Linked DNA regions of Homo sapiens: region 2 is linked to region 1. Evidence: promoter capture Hi-C in human tissues and cell types (Jung and others, 2019). All regions are on one chromosome and are shown on one strand. Each heading gives the region's core, a stretch centred on a gene start or on the middle of the fragment in contact. The rest is flanking DNA. Distances are from core to core; before and after follow the strand shown. Region 1 holds the start of LFNG (LFNG O-fucosylpeptide 3-beta-N-acetylglucosaminyltransferase). Region 2 overlaps LOC105375130 (a long non-coding RNA gene).

Region 1 (5,381 bases), core at 2,882-5,381:
TGCAGGACAAGCTACCCACTCTGAGCCAAAGCAGCCCTGAAGTTCTGCAAAGTTGCCAACGGTCAGCAGGGTTGTGGCAGGAAACCTCAGGTGTCCCCAGCCCCCAGGTCAGGGGCCCCCAGTACCCATGCAGCCCAGCACCCCTCCCACTGCTCAGGCAAGGAAACCCAGGCTTGCCCAAGGCCACAGCCCACCTGTGCCAGCACGCGGCCGCCCCCTGCCAGGAGCGCTCTGCGGAAGAGGAGGGGGCCGCCAGGGCGGGGCCAGGAGTCGCCGGCGCCCGCCTGGGCCTGCCGGCACACGGGGAGGAATGTTCCTTCCTCTGCCCGGCCCGCCCAGCGCGTGCCGCCCGGCGCACCCTGGCATGGCTGAGTGCAAAACCCAGGGTGTACGGGCAATGCTCTGACCAAGGGACAACCCCCTGATGCCCACCCAGCCTCAGTTTCCTTCCCTGTACACACAGGTCCCGCAGAGGCCCTGGAACACCTTGGTAGTCTCAGATCCTTATCCAGCCTGACCCAGCCCTGGGCACATGCTCACTAGGGTGAGGCCCAGAGCTAAGGGGGTGGCAGGCTGGGTCTCCGCCTCTCCATGCATGCACCCCTCCTGCAGCACCCATAGACACCCCAGGGCAGCCACACGCACAGACTCGCACCCAGCCCCTTGGCCTCCCCAGAATCTCAGCCCAGGAATGCCGTGGGAGGCGGAGGGCCAGCCCCTGCAGACGCTCCACTGCGCCGCTGGGTTAAAAGGAAAATGCTTTCTTAATGAGATCAAGGGAGGCCTGTTCTCCCGAGATTTGGTGGTGCCCTAAAAACCCAGCCCAAGGCTACGGAGATTAAAGTCACCTTTGTTCAGCTCAGGGAGCAGGGAGGCCTCTAGAACAGCATCTGAGAAGGCGGGGCTATGGGGTGCGGGGGTGCCGGTCGAACTGTCTCCCGACACCTGAGCCACCAGGAGGGGAGGAAAAAGGCGCTGCTGGGCTATAGGCCTCACCTGCCGCTCAGAGCCTCAGTCTCGTCTTCAGTAAAATGGGCATAACAGAGCTCCCCTGGGCAGAGAACAAAGTGCAAAGACAGATTCTCTCCCTTCCTCTCCCTGACAGCCCTCGGAGGTGGGTGCCATTACCAGCTGAGGCCCAAGTGGGGAAACTGAGGCCCAGAGAGGTGCAGGCACCAGCCTGAGGTCATACCCTGGGGCCGAGGCGGTGCTAGACCAGCCCAGTCCCTGCCTTCTAGGGACCCAGACCCCCCAGTGCCACCTAACTTTCCAGACGAAGACGGGGCTGCAGGAGGAAGAGCCGGGTGGATGAGGGTGGACGGGGGCGGGGGCCGGGGGACACCCACAGGAAGCAGCATTGTTCCTGGAGCCGCGATTCAAAGAAACACAGGATGCCAAGTTCTCCCCAGCAATTGTGGCCGCTGTGGTGGCAGCGCGGCAGCCTGGCTGCTCCTGGGAGGGGCGGGGAACCTCTGGGCCAAAGGCCAGGCTCTTCATCCTGGACTCCAGGCCCATCTCAGCGCGGCCCCTGCTGACCAACCGACCCTCCCCCCAGCCACCACTCCAGTTGCTAGAAGTTTCCTGCACAACCCCCATGCTGTGGTCATCACCATGCCCGGATGGAGTGCCCTTTCTGGGCACTTTTTTACTCTTAGTCTAGCTCAAATGGCGCCTCCTCCAGGAAGTCTTCCCTCCTCCCTCCCTTCCCCCAGCATGTGGGTCAGATGCCCACTGTTGCCTCACACAGCCTCTCGGGGTTTTCCCCCCGCACAGCCCTGACATCTTTCTATCTCCCCCATCAGACCATGTCTGAGTCATTCCGTGCAGGGCTGGGAGAGGGGGGCCCTCTTCTGTGGGTTTCCAGGACCCCTGCCCATCACCCACCACAAGGGGGTCTTTGCTTGCTGTGTGCTGGTGAACTGATGCTGAGGGCAGATTCAACCTGTCCCCTGGTGGGGTGACCCTCCAGTAGGGACCTCAGGGCTCAAGGGAGTGATGGCCCCCACCTCGACCCTGAGTGCCCGCCGGGTTCACCCCATGCCTGCAGGCTTTGCCAGTCTCTTACAACGTGCTCCTGGAAGGACCATGTTCCCCCATTTCAGAGATCAGAGTGAGGGTCTGAGAGGCCCCAGGTCTTGCTCAGGATCACACAGCCCAGCCCTCTGACCACATCCCCTCTGTTGGAGAAAGGCCCCAAATTCCAAGATGAGAGGTGCTCAGAGCTGGTGGTAGCCCAGAGTGGGGCTGAAGGATGCCCAAGATCACATAGCAGTAAGGCTTGAGTGCTGGGGGTGGGGGGGCCAGGCTCAGGGATGGTGCCCCAAAAGGACTGTCAGTAAGAGATGCTGGGGGGGCCCGCTGGTCCCCTCATCGCCAGGCAACCTGAGTGGCCAGCACGCCAGCAGCGGTTCCCACGGAGCGCGTAGCTGCACACAAGGGGCCCGACGCCTTTCTCGCTGGAGAAAGGGGCTTTGTTACCTTGCCCAAGGGGCCGGCGTGAGAGCCGCCCGGCGCTGGGAATCCTAACGGCCCGGCCGCCAAACAAAACCCACGGCCCCCGCCGCCCCCTCCCGCCAGCCCGCTGAGCCCCTGGGAATGGGACGCTGTGTTCCCAGGAGGCTGCCATGGGGTTCCCAGGGCCCCTTCCCCACGCCAGGACCAGGGAGGACCCTGCCCCTCCCCGTCGCCCTCATGACCTCACCAAGCCCTGCTCCCACCCACCCACAGTGCCCCAAAACAGGACAGCGCCAGGTCAGAAGGCCCTGGGTCTCCGGGGTTTGAGCAGGGAGGAAGGCGTGCAGGGTCTTCCCTGAGCCCCCACCCTCACAGCAAATGCCTCTGCATCTCCCAGCCCAGAGACACCCCCCCAGTCCCCGACTGCAAGCCCCACACACTGTCCCCATCCCGCCCCAGCCCAACCGTCCTGCTGTGGCCTCGAGGGAAATGTTCAAAGTGGGGTGTGTCTTAATTATGTGTGTGTAAGAAGCTGATGCCCAACTGAAGTGGGCTGTGCCCAAGGTTGCAGGCCTCAGAGACTACTGCACTGTGCGGGGAGGGTCCCCACACAGACCCCAAAACCTGGAGTTCTTTGAGATGTACTCCCCAGGACCCACCAACCAGCAATGACTTCCCTCCCTCCCCGTACCTTAACACTGTGATGAGGAAAGGGCCCAGAGGTCAGAACCCCTCACTTCTCTAAAGGAAGAGCCTTTCTCCCCAGGAAGGGGTCTGAGCTGAGGGTGGGTCCGAACAGAATTTGCTTGTGGAAGTTTGAGGACATAATGCCCTATGAATGCGCTCCAATGTTTACGGGGTGAGAAGTATCACAGGGCACCAACCCCAAGCACTGGAGACTGGTGTAGGGTCCTGCAGCCATCCAGGACTCTGGAGCTGGACAGGAGGCGGGGCCCCGGGGACAGTAACACAACTGTAACGGGAGAGTGGCCCCAGCAGGCAAACTGGGTGCACCGGGGTGCACTGGCGTCGCCCACAGATGGCCCTAGTGGCTGGATGGGGATGCAGCCTGACTCCCATGGGACACTGCCACCAGCTGGACCAGATGGTGGGTCCCCGCCCCGCTCGCCCGCCAGTCCAGGCCGCGGGGGGCTCACCATCTCCTTGTGGCGCGAGATCCAGGTCTCCAGCAGCAGGTCGAGGCGCGCGCGGTGGAACTTTTTGGTGGTCTTGACAGCGATGAAGACGTCTCGGGGCGCGAGCGGCTCGGCCAGGGGGCGCGGGTGGCCGTCGGCGGGGCGGGGGGCAGCCCCGGGCGGCGGGCCCGCATCTCTGCGCGCGCGGGTGAGCAGGCTGAAGTACTCGGACAGACTGTGCACGTCGCGGACCAGCGCCCCGGGCGCCGCCGCCGCCGCCCCCAGCCCGGGCGCCGGGGCAGCCCCCGCGGGGCCCGCCAGGCTGCGCAGCGCGCGCCGGCCGCGCTCGGCGGGCAGTGGAGGCGGCGGCGGGTCGGCGGTGAGCACCAGCAGGCAGGCGAGCAGCGCGCCCGCCAGCGCCAGCAGCAGGCGCCGGCCGCAGCGCTTGAGCATGGTGGGGTGGCGGCCGCGCGGCGCGCCCTTCCCCGTGCGCCTGCCTTGCACCGACCCGAAGCCCGTCGCTCCGGCGGCGCAGTCCAGCAGCGCAGCACCAGTGTCCCGCGCTCTTAAACCTCCCCGCCCCGGTCCCGCCCCCGTGCGCTCATTGGCTCCCGGGCTCGGGGGCGGGGCCTCGCGCCGGTCGCCGCTCCACGCCCGCAGACCCACGTGGGGCCGCGGCTGGGGGCTGGGAACTGCCCAGAGGGCGCAGCGGCCCCGCCCCCGGCGCGCACGTGCACGCCCCGCACCCCCCCCGCCCCGGGTAGCCCCTGCGGGCCGCCGAGGGGCTTGGGGACGGGCCCGGCCCGCGCCGGTGTCCCTGAAGAGGAAACCCAGCCTGGCCAGCGCCGTCCGGGGATGCACCGGGCGTCCCGGCACGGGAGGGGCGCGCCCTCGGCGCAGCGGGCAGGGTGCTGAGACCCGGGCTCTGGGCTCCGACGCACCGCGGGGGACATCCTACTTCCTCGCTGTGCGCTTCCCCTCCTGAGCACGGCTTCCTCCCCTTGGGACGCGGCAGGCCTTGCAAACTGGGGTGGCGCCTGGGTCTTCCCGAGCGCTCGGTTCAGGGGAGCCGTTATTTGTACAGAGCAAGAGCTTGGCCACCTGTGCCGCAGGTGGGGACACGAGGTTCTAACGAGAAAGCACCAGAACCAAATTCCACTCCTTCCTCCCTGGCTGATTTCCTCGATCCTGGCCCTCCGTCGGGAGGGTTGGCTCCCCGAAATCCTCAGGCGCCCCATGGCGAGGAGAAACGAAGGCCGCCACTTCCCTCGCCGGATGAAAGGCCGCCTTCTGTCCCATTTGGTCTCCTTGCGCTCGGGCCAGATGCGGCCCAGCTGTGCGCCCTCCCCACCCCGCCTCCCCGGCACACGGCCCCCATCCCCGGCCCTTCCCACGGGCCCGGGCCCGCCCCTCGCACGAGCGGGGGCGGCAGGAATGCGCGCCGGCAGCCGAGGGTGAGGGGCGAGGGGCCCGGAAGTGGCCAAGGGTCGCCTGAGCAGGGTGTGAGCCCCCTGCCCGCCACGTCCTCCGGAAGCGTGGACGGAGGCGGCTCTGCCCGTGGCTGCGCTGTCTTCCCGTGCCCTCCTAAGCAGGGTCTCTGCGACCACCACGACCACCACCGCCACCACCGTGGCTAAACTGCCCCCCTCGGAGTTATGTTCACGCCTGAGATGGCATTTTAAATTCTTTAAGTGCCCTTGGAGCCCCTCTCCTTACCTCTACCTGAATGTCAGCCGCAAGACAGCAGCGACCTGGTGTCATTCAGACCTGGAACAGGTTTTGGGACATAGT
Region 2 (6,218 bases), core at 1,664-4,163, 580 kb before region 1:
GCCCTTCCCAGCAGCCTGGCCTCTCTAGGGCTGCCTTGGCTATCCCTGTAATTCAGGGGTCCGTTAGGTGGGTTTCTCCAGGCCTTCCTACCAGCTGCTCCCTTTGAATGTTACTGAGTATCCCAGGAGAGGAGGCTACACAATCAAGTGACTTCAGGGGCCACTGCACATTGCAGCCTTATCTTGGAGATGATACCATACACATCAGCATATTCAAGGTTCTGATAAGTCCTGCAGCAAGAATGACAAAAAGCCAGAGCAAACACCTGCTTTTCTTTTTTTTCCATCTGTGTCTTATCCAGTGGTGTTTTGTGAGCCCCCAAAAGGAAGGCTTTTTATCTAGTTCCTAATGTACTTGACCATGGAACCTTTTTTCCATGTAGAATCTCCTTCCTTCAATCCCAAAATATCATATATCTACTTTGTGGCAGGCACCATGATGGATCCTGGGAATGATGATAATGAACGCAATAGATACAGCCTCTATTCTTAGACATCTTGCATGTATCAGGGAAGACAGGCACCAAGGCATACTTACAACCAAAGCATTCCACGACCATGTGATCCAGGAGAATTCCAGGGTCAAGAGCCAGGGTATTGGAAGCCAACCTGTCTACAGGTGACCAACACTGAACTTACTTTGGGAAACACTGTTCTAGGGTAAGAGGTCTCATGTATTTTTGGTGGGGAGATCTTTTCATGACTGAAAGACTCAAAAGGCCATTTTTATCCTCTGCCGTTGCATATTCTTCTAGAAGAATGTTTCTGCTTCTGTGAGATGCAAAAAAGCAATGTTCAGATTTGTATTACCTTTATACGCAAATCATTTCACATCAGGAACGAATGCAGCACTTTCAAATTGGGAGTCACAAAAGCCTGCTGAAAGGTGTTTGTGGAGTGCAGGGTGGGAAGGTCCTTGTATTAGTTCATTTTCACACTGCTGATAAAGACATACCCAAGACTGAGTGATTCATAAAGACAAAGAGGTTTAACGGACTCAGTTCCACATGGCTGGGGAGGCCTCACAATCATGGCAGAAGGCAAAAGGCACGTCTTACATGGCAGCAAGCAAGAGAGAATGAGAACCAAGCAAAAGAGGTTCCCCCTTATAAAATCAGACCTCATGACACTGATTCACTACCATGAGAACAGTATGGGGGGAAACCGCCCCCACGATTCAATTATCTCCCGCCGGGTCCTCCCACAACACGTGAGAACGATGGGAGCTACAATTCAAGATGAGATTTGGGTGGGGACACAGCCAAAGCATATCAGTCCCTGTTGCTGGAATGCTGGCCGAGAATCCTGGGTTCATATCCCAGAACCACCAATGAGCTAGTTTCTCCCACAATAATCCTAGCCACTTCCTTGTCCAGATATTTTAAGATGAGAAAAAAAGAAGACTGATTCTTTCAGTGACCAAAATCCACCTGGGTGTACAGGCTACCATCTCTCTGGGGGGACTCGGAGGGGTTTTCTAGCTCTTTCCAGCCTCAGATCCCATCCCAGGAGTACACAGTAAAACCGGACATGGAGTAGGAGGAGGAACCCTGATGATATTCAGGAAAACCCCCTCCTGGTGAGCAGACCGTCTTCAATTCAGTAAACCGAAGACTGATCTTGTCACATTCAGATGTGTAATTAATGCCTGCTACATCGCGAAAAGCATCTATACCAGGTAGACAGTAATTTACTTTCCCATAAAACTTTAACACTTTTGCTAGAAACACTATTTTTTTTTTCACAACACATTGAAAGACTATTATCCAGGCAGCCTCTCTTTCGCAGGGACGTAGGGAGGGAAAATCTTTTAAGGGACTGGCATTCCATATTGGTACTTGAGCGTCTTGGCAGTGGGACGCATCGCCCTCTCACAGGGGTGACTGCCTGACTAATGAGGTCGCCCCCAGCAACATCCACATTTTAGACTGTATTGTGTGAGCTGCCCCAAATTGAGGTGATCTCCTGTCCAGACCAGGCTGTACTTTGGTTATTTACTTGCAATGAGATATCAAGAGACTGAAAGTGGTTTAAAAAAAAAACAAAAATCTCTTCCCTAATATATGGTGTATTATTATTATTATTATTATTATTATTATTATTATTTTGAGATGGAGTCTCACTCTGTTGCCGAGGCTGGAGTGCAATGGCACTATCTCGGCTCACTGCAACCTCAGCCTCCTGGGTTCAAGCGATTCTCCTGCTTCAGCCTCCTGAGTACCTGGGATTACAGGCATGCATAGCCACCCCTGGCTAATTTTGTATTTTTAGTAGAGACGGGGTTTCTCCATGTTGGTCAGGCTGGTCTTGAACTCCTGACATCAGGTGATCCGCCTGCCTCAGCCTCCCAAAGTGCTGGGATTACAGGCGTGAGCCAACACGCCAGGCGTTTCTGTTTGTTTGTTTGTTTTATTTTTAGTAGAGATGGGATTTCACCATGTTGGCCAGGCTTGTCTCAATCCTCTGACCTCAAGTGATCCACCTGCCTTGGCCTCCCAAAGTGCTGGAATTACAGGTGTGAGCCACTGTGCCTGGCCTCACATCTCCTCCTTTTAACAGGATAAACTAAACAGGCCTCAAGAATGTGACCTCCCACGCTCCTCCATGAACAGCTCTCTCCCTGCGTCCCAGCAACCAAAGACACTTGTTGATTTGGGAAAAACCCAGAGGAAGGATTCTGTCTGGATTTTCTGGTACCACTGACGCATTTTCACCCAGGCACATTCATCTGGTTCAAGACTGAATCTTTCCCTTTTTCATGAAACAGATTCTCCCCCTCTTTTAAGCCTCTGTGGGCTCCAGAATGAGTTGAACCGCTGTATCTTCTCATCACAGCGTTTCCCTCTTTGGACATGGGCTGAGACACACAGATTTCACGACTTCCTCTTTGGAGAAGGCATGAAAGGACCTGCAGCCACGGCCCCATACGTTTCAAGAGAGGCAAGGCTTTCACCCTCCGTGTCTTTCACAGCCATCCGCCCACAGCCTCTTAACTTCCTGACATTAAACAAAAACGAAACCGAGGTTTCCCTAATTGGGGATCATCATCAAGAATCTGTCATGGGGTCTCTTAGAAATTAATTCAACTCGATTGTTCTTCAGACCTCCGCTAAGGAGCCGGCGTGTTACTCTCGACACCAACTTGTCCCATCTTCATCCTATATTAGCTCCCTAACAGGGTTGCACGATCAGCTCCTAGGCTGCAAATTAGAAAAATGGGCGATGATTCCAGCAGCTACGCCTCGGCACTCTCACGCCGGATTACTGTGATGGTCTCCTTGCAAGGCTTCCGGATCTTTCTATGTGGGTTGAAATTGGTTCCAACTGTAACTTCCTGTTGATCTCCCACCCTGAATTCCCTCATTGATGCAACATTTTGTTAAAAAAGAACTTCACCGAATTACCCATTTCATGGAAATTGCAATAGGGTATTGACTTGTATAGTTAATGAAGCTTTCAAAAAAGCACTCCTGTAGCCATCATCTAAATGCCCCTCTGGCCACCAAAACTGTGCATGTAATTCACTGTAGTGAGGATTCCTGAGTCTCCCTAAGGGAGATCCAGTAGGATCAGTTCTGGGTGGGATCCGTCAGCAAACACAACCTATTGCCCGCCTCCTTCTGGTTTCCAGTCCCGGGGGGTAATTGATGTCTTAGTGCACACAGAGCCGGACCATGGAGCTAAGTAGATATGGGTTTCCAACTCATCCCGGCCACTTCCCAGGGGCATGTCCAGGGGCAAGTTAGTAACTCTCTTGAACCTCAGTTTCCTCATCTGCAGAGTGTGGATCATCACAAACCTACCTTCTGGGGTTGCTAGGGGATTAAAGGAGATAAGGAGCATAGCAGGGCTGGCCCTGTGCCTGCCTGGAGTGGGCACCAAGCTGACTTCGCTGGGGCTCTCCCGGCCCCACATACCTGCAATGGTTTTGCCTTTGGCTCGATGTCTGAAGCCTTTGCATTTCTGAAGGGAGTGATGTAAATCAAGCCATGCTTATGATTAAAAACATCCAACGTTCAGCTCAGTTGTTTGTCCTATTTTGGCAACATCCTATTCTTTTGTTGTTGCTGTTTTTGAGATAGGATCTTGCTCTGGGGCCCAGACTGGAGTGCAGTGGTACAATCATGGCTCACTGCAGCCTCAACCTCCTGGGCTCAAGTGATCCTCCTGCCTCAGCCTCCCGAGTAGCTGGGACTATAGGTGTTCACCACCATGCCTGGCTAGTTTTTTAATTTTAATAGAGATGAGGTCTCATTATGTTACCCAGACTGATTTCAAACACCCAGGCTCAAGTGATCCTCCCACCTCAGCCTTCCAAAGTGCTGCCATTACAGGTATGAGCCACCACACCTGGCCAACCTTCTCCTCTTATCTGTGGGAAACCTTGGGGCATTACTGAAGAAAAAATTGTGATGTCCAAATCCTGCACTGTACCCCAGTGCAAGGTGGTAGGTGTTGAAGTAGAAAATGATAAGACGTAAATCGTCAGCAAAAGCCAAAGAGAGAGGTAAAAAATGTATGAGCACTAAATGAATTGATTTTCATAAAATTAGCGTTATACTGTATAATAATGTTTCCCAATATAAAGTCTTTTTCATATTAATATTTATAACATTGTAAAGATTAAATCATACCTTTGTGATTATTTTAATTTTTTTTAACCTTATTCTGTTCCAAAGATAAAGCTTGGTTGTGTTTTTTGTGTGTGTGGGGGGGGGGTTTGGGTTTTTTTTGGCCTTTATCTTTAGAATGTTCTAGTGACATTCTGAATTCTTCCAACAGGGCGATATTGTTATTTTAATAATGGTTATGCACAACACATATAGGAATCTGTCATGGAGTTGGTGGGAATGAAAAGGCTACTTAGATACCCAGCTTGAAAAGCTTTCATGTTTTTATGTTTAATTTGCAACAATCTTCCTTCTTTGCACAGGAGGTGATACATTACTGAAATAGGAGATCAGGCCAGGTGCGGTGCCTCACGCCTATAATCCCCACACTTTGGGCAGCCAACGTGGGAGGATCACTTGAGCTTCAGAGTTTGAGACCAGCCTGAGCCACATAGCAAGACCCCCCTTTTCTACAAAAAAAAAAAAAAAAATTAAAAATTAGCCGAGCATGGTGGCATGCATCTGTGGTCTCAGCTACTCAGGAGGCTAAGGCAGGAGGATTGCTTGAGCCCGGGAGGTAGAGGCTGCAGTGAGCTATGATTGAACCACTGCACTCCAGCGTGGGCAACAGAGCAAGACCTTGCTCTAAAAAATTAAAAAAAAAAAAATAGGAAGGAAGAAAATAGGAAATCAACCAATGCAGCTCTCACCACCTCCTACATCCGGTTCTGGGGTTCTGGGTGGTGGGGCGCCTGCGTCCTGCTGTAGGGTCAGGACAAACAGGCATGGCTGCACAGCTGTGCTCCCCCTGGCTGGCTCCCGCAGGCTCCCAATGCCTTTGGGAGGTCAGCCTCTCAAGCTGAGTGCCCAGAAACTACACAAACCCCAACAGGCCGTGCAGGAAATGAGACCCACAGCCACGTCACCAGCCTCATTTTTGCAAGCTGATGGAGGTGGGGAAACCCTACCCTTCTTCCTTTAGCAGCAATAGCTTTTCTTTTTTTTTTTTTTATCATGCTTTTTTTTTCATACTTACCAATATTTTTAAGTTTGAGCTTCATTTCAAATTTTTGACCTGAGTAATGATGCCATGCACACAGTTTGCCCAATCTTTCCCCAGCTACCTCTTGGGTCCTATATTAGTATGCTGGGCCTGCCACGACAAAGTACCACAAACAGGGCAACTTAAACAACAGAAATGTATGGCCTCATGGGGCTGGAGGCCAGAGGTCCAAGATCAAGGTGTTGGTAGGGTTGGTTCCTTCTGGGGGCAGAGAACCTGCCCCAGGCCTCTCCCCAGCTCCCGGTGGTTCTCCACAATCTGCAGTGATCCTCGACTTGTAGACGCATCCCTCTGATCTCCACCTTCATCCTCACGTGTGCTCTCCTGTGTGTCTGTGTCCAAATTTCCCTTTTCATGAAGACACTAGTCATCTTGGTTTAGGGCCCACCCTAAGAACCTCATCTTGACTTGATTATCTGCAAAGACCCTGTTTCCAAATAAGATGGCATTTGCAGGCATTGGGGGTTAGGACATGATCTTTTGGAGGTTTAACATCGTTTGTGGGGACATGATTTAGCCCTGACAGGCGCCCTCCTTGCCTGGGT

The links. Contacts are between HindIII fragments. The study calls those that stand out against the background at their distance.
Region 2: a contact is called between a fragment that was not itself captured here and the fragment with the promoter of LFNG in region 1, in 1 of the 25 tissues and cell types used here (lymphoblastoid cells).

Annotation. Positions count from the first base shown.
Region 1 is chr7:2,518,524-2,523,904 of GRCh38, reverse strand. LFNG (LFNG O-fucosylpeptide 3-beta-N-acetylglucosaminyltransferase) reads right to left here and starts at 4,131. Exons shown (of 8, transcript NM_001040167.2): 1 at 3,612-4,131. The coding sequence starts at 4,043. RefSeq lists enhancers at 416-928, 1,795-1,854, 1,895-2,024 and silencers at 3,956-4,065, 4,076-4,605. The HindIII fragment of the contact is 23,923 bases long and covers 1-5,381 here.
Region 2 is chr7:3,091,927-3,098,144 of GRCh38, reverse strand. LOC105375130 (a long non-coding RNA gene) reads left to right here. Exons shown (of 2, transcript XR_007060191.1): 2 at 2,560-4,019. Among named protein-coding and RNA genes, the nearest start is that of CARD11, 51 kb to the right of the region's middle. The HindIII fragment of the contact is 3,745 bases long and covers 1,041-4,785 here.